3 separate regions of the Homo sapiens genome follow, and all the other regions are linked to region 2. The links are contacts of gene promoters, found by promoter capture Hi-C in blood cells and fetal thymus (Javierre and others, 2016). All regions are on one chromosome and are shown on one strand. Each heading gives the region's core, a stretch centred on a gene start or on the middle of the fragment in contact. The rest is flanking DNA. Distances are from core to core; before and after follow the strand shown.

Region 1 (3,698 bases), core at 348-2,847, 620 kb after region 2:
AGATCACCTGAGGTCGGGAGTTTGAGACCATCCTGGCCAACATGGTGAAACCCCGTCTCTACTAAAAATACAAAAATTAGCTGGGCATGGTGGCATGCGCCTGTAATCCCAGCTACTCGGGAGGCTGAGGCAGGAGAATCGCTTGAACCCATGAGGCGGAGGTTGCAGTGAGACGAGATTGCATCACTGCCCTCCAGCCTGGGCGACAGAGCGAGACTCTGTCTCAAAAAAATAATAAAATGTTTTATTTGGGAAGCAAGAATTGACATTCGAGGCATCCACACAGACCAGGCGGTCTTCAGAACTTTCAAAGAACAAAGAGGTTAGAGGTTTTTATAAGAAACAGAAATGTTAGGTATTGTTTTGCAAGAAAGTTCATTGACACTAGCAACGTTCTGGGGAGCTGGCAAGTTCTGACTGGTAAGTGACAGCAGAGGGAAAAACTAGTCTTAGAGTCACGGCAGGTTTTTTCAGTACCAGTTAGACTGCTTCCAGGTTACAACAGGCAGTTTTAACAGCCAGGCTTGCAGAGAATCACTTTCTTGGAGCAATGGTATCTGCCCTAAGTGTTTTCCCCCCGGCCTCTCAACTTTGTTTTAGTTGGATATGACAAGAAGGATCCAATTCACATGATCAACTTTCACAATTTTTTTTTTCTGTTTGTTTTTTGAGACGGAGTCTCACTCACTCTTTTGCACAGGCTGGAGTGCAGTGGTGCAATCTCTGCTCACTGCAACCTCCCCCTCCCGGATTCAAGCAATTCTCCTGCCTAAGCCTCCAAATTAGCTGGGATTACAGGCGCGTGCTACCACGCCCAGCTAATTTTTGTATTTTTAGTAGAGACGGGGTTTCACCATGTTGGCCAGGCTGGTCTCGAACTTCTGACCTCAAGCGATCCGCCTGCCTTGGCCTCCCAAAGTGCTGGGATTACGGGCATGAGTCACCGCACCCAGCCACAATTGTATTTTTATTGGACAGAGCTGATCTAGAGGTTAAAATGAGGAATTCCGGAGCTAGGCTGGCTGGATTCAAATCCCTACTAGCTGGTGATCATAGACAAGCCACTTGGCCTCTGCTGGTCTCAGTTTTTTCACCTGTGAAGTAAAGGGCATAACAGCACCTACTTCATGGGGTTGCCACCCTGGCTGGCAGTAAAACCGTCCATAAAAGTTGGCTGGTGTTACTATTGGTTGCATTAATTTTTAGCAGCCGGAGCCTGTTTTCTCCTGTGAAATGAAGATAACCACGCCCGACCTTAAAGGTGATGGAAATTTTTTAACACGTTAACGGATACGAGGCCTCCCACTCAGAAGCCTGACCAAAATAACAATGGTTGCTCAGAGCCAGACGTCTCATTGCTACTAACGAATTAGGGACACTTCAAGGGGCCGGCTGGAGGGGACGGCTGTGAGCAGCAGGCCTTGGCTCCTGGCTGCACCTGGCCCCGTCGCGGGAAGCAGGTTGGGTTTGGAGAGCGGGAGGGAGCAGGCGGGAGGGGCTGGCGAGTAAGAAAGAGGATGCAGGGGTGGGTGAAGCTGGCTAGTAAGAGGGGAGGGGCCGGCGAGTAAAAAGGACGCAGAGGGGCGTGGGGAGCTTGCGGCACAGCTAGGGCATCCCGGCGAGGAGCGCCGCCAGGCCCCGGGGTAGGACTTGGGGTGCGGTGTCGGTGCGGCCGCCGAGGGGGGCTGATTGCATGCAATTCGGGGCATACACACAGACCGCGGGGTCTCCGGGATATCGGGGCTATCAAGGACGGGCTGGGGGATGGGGACTTGGGGACGGGGCCCAGGGATGGTGAAGACGGGGGTGCGGCTGGCAGAATCAGGGCAGGCAGAGGCTGCGCGCCGCGGAGGCTGCTGGTCCCTGACGCCTTGACCCTTCCTCTCCCGCAGCCACAGCCGGGCCTGGCGGGGGGACCATGGGCGCCTCGGTCTCCAGGGGCCGGGCCGCCCGGGTCCCCGCGCCGGAGCCGGAACCCGAAGAGGCGCTGGACCTGAGCCAACTACCCCCAGAGCTGCTTCTGGTGGTGCTGAGCCACGTCCCCCCGCGCACGCTGCTCGGGCGCTGCCGCCAAGTGTGCCGGGGCTGGCGAGCCCTGGTGGACGGCCAGGCCCTGTGGCTGCTGATCCTGGCCCGCGACCACGGCGCCACCGGCCGCGCGCTGCTGCACCTCGCCCGCAGCTGCCAGTCTCCCGCCCGTAACGCCAGGCCTTGCCCCCTGGGCCGCTTCTGCGCGCGCAGACCCATCGGACGCAACCTTATTCGCAACCCCTGCGGCCAAGGTGGGATCTCGGAAGAGGAAGTCCAGGATGCTGGGCCACAGTGGGAGCGGTAGCGGGGCCGGAGGGGCGGGGCCGCACTGGGACCGGTACTAGGGGCCGCAGGGGCAGGGCCGCAGTGGGACCGGTGGGAGGAGTCGGAGAGGCGGGGCAGCATTGGGAGCCGGTGTGAGGTGCCGGAGGGGCGGGGCAGCATTGGGAGCCGGTGGGAGGTGTCGGAGGGACGAGGCAGCATTGGCACGCAGGGTGCAGGGCTGACTGGGCAGGGCTTCACCGTTTGCCTGTGGGAGGGGTGGGAGTGGGGCAGTTCTGGGAGCCCGAGAGAGGGGTTGGAGGGGCAGGGCTTTGCTGCAAATCAGTGAGAAGGGCCAGAGGAGCGGGGCTTTGCCCTGAGCTGGTGGGAGGGGAAGGGGGCGGGGCCTCGGTGGGAAGGGTCAGGTGAGTGAGCTGCACTGTGAGCACGTGGGAGGGGCTAGGGGCGGGGTCTCACTAGGAACCAACAGGCGGGCGACTGGAACTTGGGCACAAGCCTTTTTTATTTCACAGAAGGCCTCCGAAAGTGGATGGTGCAACACGGTGGGGACGGCTGGGTGGTGGAGGAAAACAGGACAACCGTGCCTGGGGCCCCTTCTCAGACGTGCTTCGTGACTTCATTCAGGTGAATGCCCCTGCTATCCAAAGGTCCGGCCCCTTGTTGAGAAAGGCCTGCCTGTTCTCATTACCCTGTCTCCTGCATTCCCAGCTGGTGTTGCAAGAAGCAGGTCTTGGACCTAGAGGAGGAGGGTCTGTGGCCAGAACTGCTGGATAGTGGCAGGATTGAGATTTGTGTCTCTGACTGGTGAGTGTGACGATTAAAATAGCCCCTTGCTAAGCACTGACTGCATGTGACATGGCCTTTTTATGGGTGACTTAATTTAGGCCTCCTAACCCCTCCTTACAGATAAAAAATCTGAAGTTCAGGCCAGCCATGGTGGCTCACACCTATAATCCCAGCACTTTGGGGGGTCGAGGCAGGCAGATCACTTGAGGTCAGGAGTTCGAGACCAGCCCAACCAGCATGGCAAAACCTCGTCTCTACTAAAAATACAAAAAAAAAATTAGCCGGGCCTGGTAGTGCACACCTGTAGTCCCACATACTTGGGAGGCTGAGGCAGGAGAATCACTTGAACCCAGGAGGTGGAGGTTGTACCACTACACTCCAGCCTGGACGACAGAGTGAGACTCAGTCCTGGAAAAAAAAAAGAAAGAAAAGAAACTGAAGTTCAGGGAGGTGAAGTGAAAAACACACTCACAGTTCTAGTAATTAGCAGAGTACACACTTTCTGCTCATGCCCAAAAGGATGTGGATTGGAAGACAGAAGATGAGATCCAGTACAGAGACCTTTGGCCCAGCTCAGTCTTGTCTGTGAATGAATGAGA
Region 2 (3,946 bases), core at 796-3,295:
AGAAGAGTCGATCAGTGTCCCTTTGATTATCACGCAGGAACCAACAGACAAAGACACAGGCAGTTTGTATGGCACCTGCCAGGGTATTGAGAATAAGTGAGAGGTGCAGGGTCAGGTGCAGTCTCCCTTCCTGTAACATATTCCCATGGTGCAGGAGGTTAGAGATCACAGGGCAGGCTCTGTGGACTCTCCCCATTCACTCTACCACAGTCAGGGCCCCACATTCCTGAAGGTATGGTGGACCCATAGGTAAGAGCAAGGGTTCAGGAGCCAAGAAGCCTGGATTCCAGTCCTCATTCTGCCTCTTACTAGCAGTGCAATCTTAGATCGGTTACTTGACTTCCTCAGTTTCCCTAAAACAAGGAGGATTATCATGAATTCCTACTGTGTAGGAAGTTCTCCATAATAGAGCAGTTAATACATGTAAAACTTTTACCCTAATCCCTGGCATGTGTAGGGCCTGTTAGGGGTGACCTAACAGAACAGGGGAGTCCTCCTGAAACACTGATCTGCCTTATTTTCAACTCTCACAATCATCAAGGGCAATGGACGTCCTTCCAAGAAGTGGCACACATTACTGACAGCACAGCCCCAGTACTTGCACAAGTGAAGCCTGTGGGTCAGGGACATAACTGGAGGGAATGATTGATTTCTACAATGACTACAAGTGGTTGATGATTTTTCTGTATTTTTGAGATAGGGTCTTGCTCTGTTGCCCAGGCTGACATGCAGTGGTGCGATCATAGCTCATTGAAACGTTGAACTCCTGGGCTGCAGTGATCCTCACACATCTGCCCCCTCTTGTGTAGCTGGGGCAAAAGGTGCCTGCCACTCTGGCAGTCTGATATTTAAAGTTTTTTAAAGAAAGGGTCTCACTATGATACCCAGACTGGCCTCAAACTTCTGGCCTCAAGTTATCCTCTCATCTTTGTCTCTCAGATTGGTGGGATTATAGCCGTGAGCCAGTGAACCCAGCTGCTTTGTTGATTAATATCCACTGTAAGCTCTGTCTGAACTGAGACTAGACTTGTTCCTTCATGGGTGGAGGAACAAGTTTAGACTCAGTTGAGACATAGCTTACAGTGGATATTTTACGTGATTCAGTCTCTGAAACCATGGCCTCTAATATCCTTCTCTAGCAAACCTCCTGTCCCACAATGAAAAGGACAGGATAGGCTGGGGACAGGGAAGCTGAGCCTGGGAGGCAAGAGACAGTGGTCACTCTGTGCAGACCCCACCTGAGGATCCATCACCCCCATAGTCTCCATTCCTCTTCCCCACTCTTACTGGGAAGAGACATCTACTGATCATACATTCTGCTCTCATAAGTGATCTGAAACAAGTCCTTGGTAACTCACAATCTCCAAGATCCCTACCAGTTAAGCCACCTGGGATCCACATTGCCACACATGAAAAGACACACAGTTCCTTCATCAGAAGTGCTGTTGTGTGGGGAGGAACCTTCACATGCACAGAAGGCCACATGCGTGTTTTCCCTTCAATACTCAGTCACATCCCAGCACACACACCCACAGTCACACAGAGCCATGCCACTCACTGAGTTACACACACCTGCTCACTGCGCACATAAAGATGACCATGCACTGGTCTGGCTGTGCTAACACACACTCACATCACAAAGAGGAAGACAAAGTACAATCACCCCCCTTACACTCACACAAACACCTGCTTGACCTGGTGTGCCATCCACCTCCCACCTAAAGTCACATCATCTCATCAGAGTTCACTCTCATCAGATACCACCTCATGCTCACAGAGGGTTACATTTGTCCAGGATCCACAACCCACATGCTACAAGCATCTCAGATACCCAGCCTCAGTGTTTCTCTTCCACACACCCACAACTCTCAGTAAAGCATTCACAGTAGGAATGCTCATATTTTCATCTCATAAAATACCCCACATCTTTCTTGGTTTTGTGTGACTTGAGATTATTGAAGGCTGTGCCTTTTCAACTCACAGTTAGAAATGACATTGTCCTCTCCTTCTGGGCGACCTTCGGAATTGTGTCCAGTCTTCTGAGTGAATCTCTGAGTTGCAGCACTTAAATGACCCCTTTCAGCTTTGCCCTCTGGCATCATTCCAGATTCCATGCTCCTCCCAGCAAGCTTTCCTTGCAGCATGAGAAAGGGTCAGGTGTCACGAAGAAACTCAGTCACAACCATAACTATTTGCAAGTCTGTGTCTGTAATGCAGCAGAAATGACATTGGGGAAGGTACCAGACTGTGGATTGGGTTACCAGGGAAATGCATAGATAAGGATGATGGAGTGAGGGGTAGTGATTGTAAAGCCCAGCCTTTGTGCCTCTCAAGCCTTTTCTCCACTATGCAGAATCTACCCAGAAGGTGTACATTTTCCCAATTTTGTACAATGGCTAAACAAGAAAAAAAAAGTTGGAGATTTTGGGGGAAACAAGTTAGCCCTAAAAGGTAATTCTTCTCTCTGCCTTTAAATGTTCTGGGAGAGCACTGACCTTGATCCTGAGGAGGATCTGCAGAGAGAAGTAGAGAAATTTCTTGCATGAACCTGCCCCACACTAAGCCACTTGGCTTTGCTAGGTAAGGGCCACTTTCATCTGACTGTCACACACTTGGGCTCTAGCTACACCCTCTGTTGGTGTCCATGTAAATCAAAGTTTGAGGGAGACTGTTTCTTCTGCAGATTCTGGGAGAAAGGTGAGATTTAAAAAAAATTATTATTATACTTTAAGTTCCAGGGTACATGTGCACAATGTGCAGGTTTGTTACACAGGTATACATGTGCCATGTTTGTTTGCTGCACCCATTAACTCGTCATTTACATTATTTATCCTGATGCTATCCATCCCCCTGCCCCCCACCCCATGATAGTCCCCCATGTGTGATGTTCCCTGCCATGTGTCCAAGTGCTCTCATTGTACAATTCCCACCTATGAGTGAGAACATGCGGTATTTGGTTTTCTGTGCTAGTGATAGTTTGTTCAGAATGATGGTTTCCAGCTTCATCCATCTCCCTGCAAAGGACATGAACTCATCCTTTTTTATGGCTGCATAGAATTCCATGGTGTATATGTGCCACATTTTCTTAATTCAGTCTATCATTGAAGGATTTGGTTTGGTTCCAAGTCTTTGCTATTGTGAACAGTGCTGCAATAAACATACGTGTGCATGTGTCTTTATAGTAGCATGATTTATAATCCTTTGGGTATATACCCAGTAATGGGATGCTGGGTCAAATGATATTTCTAGTTCTAGATCCTGGAGGAATGGCCACACTGTCTTCCATAATGGTTGAGCTCGTTTACACTCCCACCAACAGTGTAAAAGCGTTCCTATTTCTCCATATCCTCCCCAGCATCTGTTGTTTCCTGACTTTTTAATGATCGCCATTCTAACTGGTGTGAGATGGTATCTCAATGTAGTTTTGATTTGCATTTCTCTAATGACCAGTGATGATAAGCATTTTTTCCTGTGTTTGTTGGCTGCATAAATGTCTTCTTTTGAGAAGTGTCTGTTCATATCCTTTGCCCACTTTTTGATGGGGTTGTTTGTTTTTTTCTTGTAAATTTGTTTAAGTTCTTTGTAGATTCTGGATATTAGCCCTTTGTCAAATGGGTAGATTGCAAAAATTTTCTCCCATACTGTAGGTTGCCTATTCACTCTGACGGTAGTTTCTTTTGCTGTGCAGAAGCTCTTTAGTTTAATTAGATCCATTTGTCAATTTTGGCTTTTGTTGCCATTGCTTTTGGTGTTTTAGTCATGAAGTCCTTGCCTATGCCTACATCCTAAATGATATTGCCTAGGTTTTCTTCTAGGGTTTTCATGGTTTTAGGTCTAACATTTAAGTCTTTAATCCATCTTGAATTAATTTTTGTATAAGGTGTAAGGAAGGGGTCCAATTTCAGCTTTCTACATATGGCTAGCCAGTTTTCCCAGCACCATTTAT
Region 3 (3,829 bases), core at 257-2,756, 570 kb after region 2:
GGGTGCCAATGGTCCAGAGTCCAAGCTCTTACTCCCACAGTGGAAGGATCCTAATCAAAGATCGGGAGGCAGTCAGCCTCGTGGGGAAGAGGAGAAGAGGGATGGAGAAGGGGCTGGGTAACCCAGCTCTGTTATCATTCATCCACTGGTTCCTTCCACAACTGGCTCTGAGGCCTACCGTGCATGAACGAACAAACGTGCCAGGTCCCGGAAACACAACAGAGATGCAATGAACAAGGACAGCAGCGGTCCCCTTTTGAGAGCAGGGGAGCACTCTCTGTGGGCTGAGCACCATGATCATTCCCCACACTTCCAGGTGTTCCACAGCCTGTACTTCCTATTCCACAGAGGTGGATGATGGAGGCTCAGGAGGAATGAGCCACCCGCCTAGGGGCTCACAGTGTGGGATTCCTGAGCCCTCAAACAACGAAGCACCGCTGGGCCTCTCTGGTAGAGGCATAGAAATGAGTCAGGGACACTTACCTGGGTAAGACAGATGGACTTGCTCTGGGGCAGCGCTGGGAGCCCCCAGGGACCCCTGGACTCCCAAGGAGAATAGCAGGAGTAGACAGTAACAGGACCAGTAGCCAGGAAGGGGGTGCATGGTGGTGGGGTGGTGATGGCAGACCGGGGAAAAGCAGGGGGACTGAGGAGATCAGCTCCCCACAGGTACAGCAGGAAGGGCTGGGAGGATGGGGAACAGAGGATGATCAGGCAGTGCTCTGGGGGACAACAGAGGCAGGGCAGGGAGGTCTCCTTCAAGATGGGTGGTTATCCAGGTGCTGGAGAGAGAAACCAAAAATAAGAATCGCTAAGGAACAGCAGCAGAGCTCTCTGAGCCTCACTCACAGTGTGCCAACCGCTTGACATAGATTAATTCACGGAAGCCTCACGACATTGCTATGAAGTGGTGGCTGTGAGCATTGTCATCCCCATATCACAGATGAGGAAACCGAGCAGCTGAGTGATTCAGCTGCACAGCTAGGATGGGATGGAGCCAGGATTTGAACCCAGGAGGGCCTGATTCCAGAGCCTTGCTCCTAACCAGAGCTCACTCTCAGTGCTGGGGGTCTGGGAGCGGGGTGGAGGCTGTGTAGGAGGTTGCATTCCGCAGCCCCATCCCCAGCTTTCCATCCTGCTGTTAGAAACCCCAGTTCTCCTACCTACTCCCGAGATTCCAAGCATTCCCGCCTGCCCCCGGGACCTCGCCTCCCTACTCCATCCTTAGCCTTCTATTTTGCTCCTAGTGACCCCAATCCTCCCACACCACCCCCAGATCCTTTAGAGCCCATCATGGCCAGAGCGGCCGCATCCTCTCTCCCCATCCCCAGCGTCCCTGCCCTTCCCCCATCTGTACCCACCCCCCTTCTCTCCAGCGCTTTCCCGCCTGCTCCAGCTCCGTCTCCAGCTGCCAGGATGGAGCCGGGTCGGGACCATCCGGGAAAGGGGACGCCCTCCCGGACCCCGGCTCACCCTCGGGGGCGCCGGCTGCCCGCACGCGCCTCTCCCGCCACCAGCGCCGCCCCGGTATTTATGAGTTCGCGGGTGCCGAGGCCTCTTGCCGCCTACAGCCGTCCCAGCCCCGGAAGAGCCGGTCGCCTCGGGGTGACAGCCTCCCTAGACAGCCAGGGCCCCGGGTCCCACAGGTCCGGCCGGTCCTGCCTGGGCGCCCCACACCCACCCGCCCACCCCACCAGGGCGTGGCGCGGGAAGGGGGACCCAGGAAGGTTATGATACGTCTCCGGCGCGCCACCTCTGAGCCGGCCACCAGGTGAGAGCCCAGGCAGGTAACCCTGCGCTCGTCCCTCAGGCGCCCACTCATCAGCTGGGGAGCCCCAGGGCACGGACACCGGCCCCTATCCTGGCCCTGCCCGATCCCCAGGTACCCAGGTGTGCAGGACCGGGGGATCCCCAACCTTTCCAGCCTCGCTGCATCTTCCTCCAGCCTTCCGGCTTCCTTCCTTTCCATGCTGAGCCCACTGACCCCTCCTCAGAAGCCCGGGGCAACCTCAAAACAAAACCAGAATCCCGGAATTGCAGTGGGCTTTCTGAGCTGTGCGACCTAGGTGAGTTATTCAACCTCGCTGGACCTTGGGTTTTTTCACCTGTAAAAAGGAGGTGATGCTCGTATATACCCCGTGGGCTGTTGTGAGGAGTAAACGAGTTGCTGCATGAAATTTCATGCCGATAACAGGGCCCGGCCCAGAGTAAGGGCTGGATAAGAATCAGCTGTTCTTTTTAATCGTATTAATGCAGGAACTCCAGAAACTGACGTCTAGGGAACAAGTTAGGGTTCTCCCCTGTAAACCTTTGCAATCTGTTTGAACGTGAGGAGCGGCTGCCACAAAAAGAGAAGCAGGGAAGAACTGGGGGGGCCCGGATTTCCAGTCGTTTCCCCTTCCTGACTGCAGATACAATGACCCGCCACCACTTGGCTTTGTAAATTCAGAGCACATAGGCTTCTACTGATTGTGGACACCAATTTCAGAAATTGGCACTAGGAGTGTGGGAAAATCAAAACGAGCCCTTTGCACTGTTTGAGTTTTTTTTTTTTTCTTCCCACTTCCAGAGTCTCCATTACAGCCTAAAATATAATGAAAGTAGCTCTCATAACCAAACTTGAGTACCTGCCACTCCTGTGGCCCCCAATTATAACCTCCCCGTATTCTTAGTTCGTCCAGAATGGGAGGTTCCTAAGCTTTTTTGTGCTAAAGATGCCTATGGCAAGCTGGTCAAGCCCTTCTCAGGATCATGTCGTTACATGCATAATATAAATACACAGAAATACAAAGGAAACCAGTGCTATTGTGATACAAGGTGTTGGGGGGTTTTTTTGTTGTTGTTGTTTTGTTTTTGTGTTTGTTTTTTGGTTTTGTGTGTGTGTGTGTTTTGTTTTTGTTTTGAGACAGAGTTTCACTCTGTTGCCCAGGCTGGAGCACAGTAACACGATCTTGGCTCATTACAACCTCTGCCTCCTGGGTTCATGCGATTTTCGAGCCTCAGCCTCCCGAGTAGCTGGGACTACAGGCATGAACCTGGCTGAAAACGAGAAGTTTTAAAAACACACGAATATACATGCATATATTTCTATTAGCCATCAGAGTGATGACATTATCACAGGTCAGGTAGTCTCTGGAGAATGAAAAGGACAAACGTCTTAATATCATTATGAAAATACTTTTGACCTCACTAGCCCCTGAGAAAGGTCTTGCGGACCCACAGGTGCCCCCAGACCACATTTTGAGAACTGCTAGATTAAAGTGTAGTAAAAGGAGAGGTAAAAAAAGTTTCCCCTATCCAAGTTCACGTAGCTCCTGAATTCCCAACCACCAGCCCAGGTGAAAAGAGCCCACTGGAGTTGCCTCTGGTTGGACCCTGACTGGCGGATGAGGGCTTATAGCTCAGGTATAAGCTTGCGGTGGGGAATGGAGCATCGACTCTGGGGCTAGATGGCCTGGTTATAAATCTATCTTCAGCACTGACTAACTTAGACAAGTGATTTAACCGCACGGTGCCTCGGTTTCCCCATCTGTGAAATGGGAACAATAGTAGCACCTTATAGGGTTGTTGCAAGGATTAAATAATAAACCCCTTAGAACAGTGCCTAGCACAGAGCAAGTGCCCCCGTATAATCTTCTAATTATCATTATAATAATTAGAAGATTATTGATAATAATCTTCTAATTATTACCAAGACATCTAGTCTGCCCAGTTTGTAAGGCAGAGTTTTAATAAGCCTAGTTTTCTAAGTCACTTTACTCTGTCCCCCAGGCTGGAGTGCAGTGGTGTGATCTCGGCTCACCGCAAACTCCACCTCCCGGGTTCTAGC

Evidence for each region. The method cuts DNA at HindIII sites, captures the fragments that hold promoters and counts their contacts. A CHiCAGO score of 5 or more calls a contact.
Region 1: a contact is called between the fragment with the promoter of FBXO27 here and the fragment with the promoter of LGALS16 in region 2, in 4 of 17 cell types (total CD8 T cells, fetal thymus, naive CD8 T cells and 1 more). The highest score is 5.5, in total CD8 T cells.
Region 3: the fragment with the promoter of ACP7 here is called in contact with the fragment with the promoter of LGALS16 in region 2 in 3 of 17 cell types (naive B cells, total B cells and fetal thymus); the score reaches 7.4 in naive B cells.

Annotation. Positions count from the first base shown.
Region 1 is chr19:39,030,448-39,034,145 of GRCh38, reverse strand. It overlaps FBXO27 (F-box protein 27), which reads left to right and starts at 1,597. Exons shown (of 6, transcript NM_178820.5): 1 at 1,597-1,643; 2 at 1,893-2,282; 3 at 2,826-2,937; 4 at 3,022-3,117. The coding sequence starts at 1,919. RefSeq lists silencers at 1,819-1,888, 1,949-2,098, 2,299-2,378, 2,529-2,768, 2,618-2,800 and enhancers at 1,710-2,502, 2,909-3,018. The HindIII fragment of the contact is 11,668 bases long and covers 1-3,698 here.
Region 2 is chr19:39,654,012-39,657,957 of GRCh38, reverse strand. It overlaps LGALS16 (galectin 16), which reads right to left and starts at 2,045. Exons shown (of 4, transcript NM_001190441.3): 1 at 1,982-2,045; 2 at 1-75. The coding sequence starts at 1,996. The HindIII fragment of the contact is 3,782 bases long and covers 1-2,131 here.
Region 3 is chr19:39,082,045-39,085,873 of GRCh38, reverse strand. ACP7 (acid phosphatase 7, tartrate resistant (putative)) reads right to left here and starts at 1,506. Exons shown (of 13, transcript NM_001004318.3): 1 at 1,474-1,506; 2 at 484-782. The coding sequence starts at 604. RefSeq lists an enhancer at 1,153-1,653. The HindIII fragment of the contact is 23,028 bases long and covers 1-2,700 here.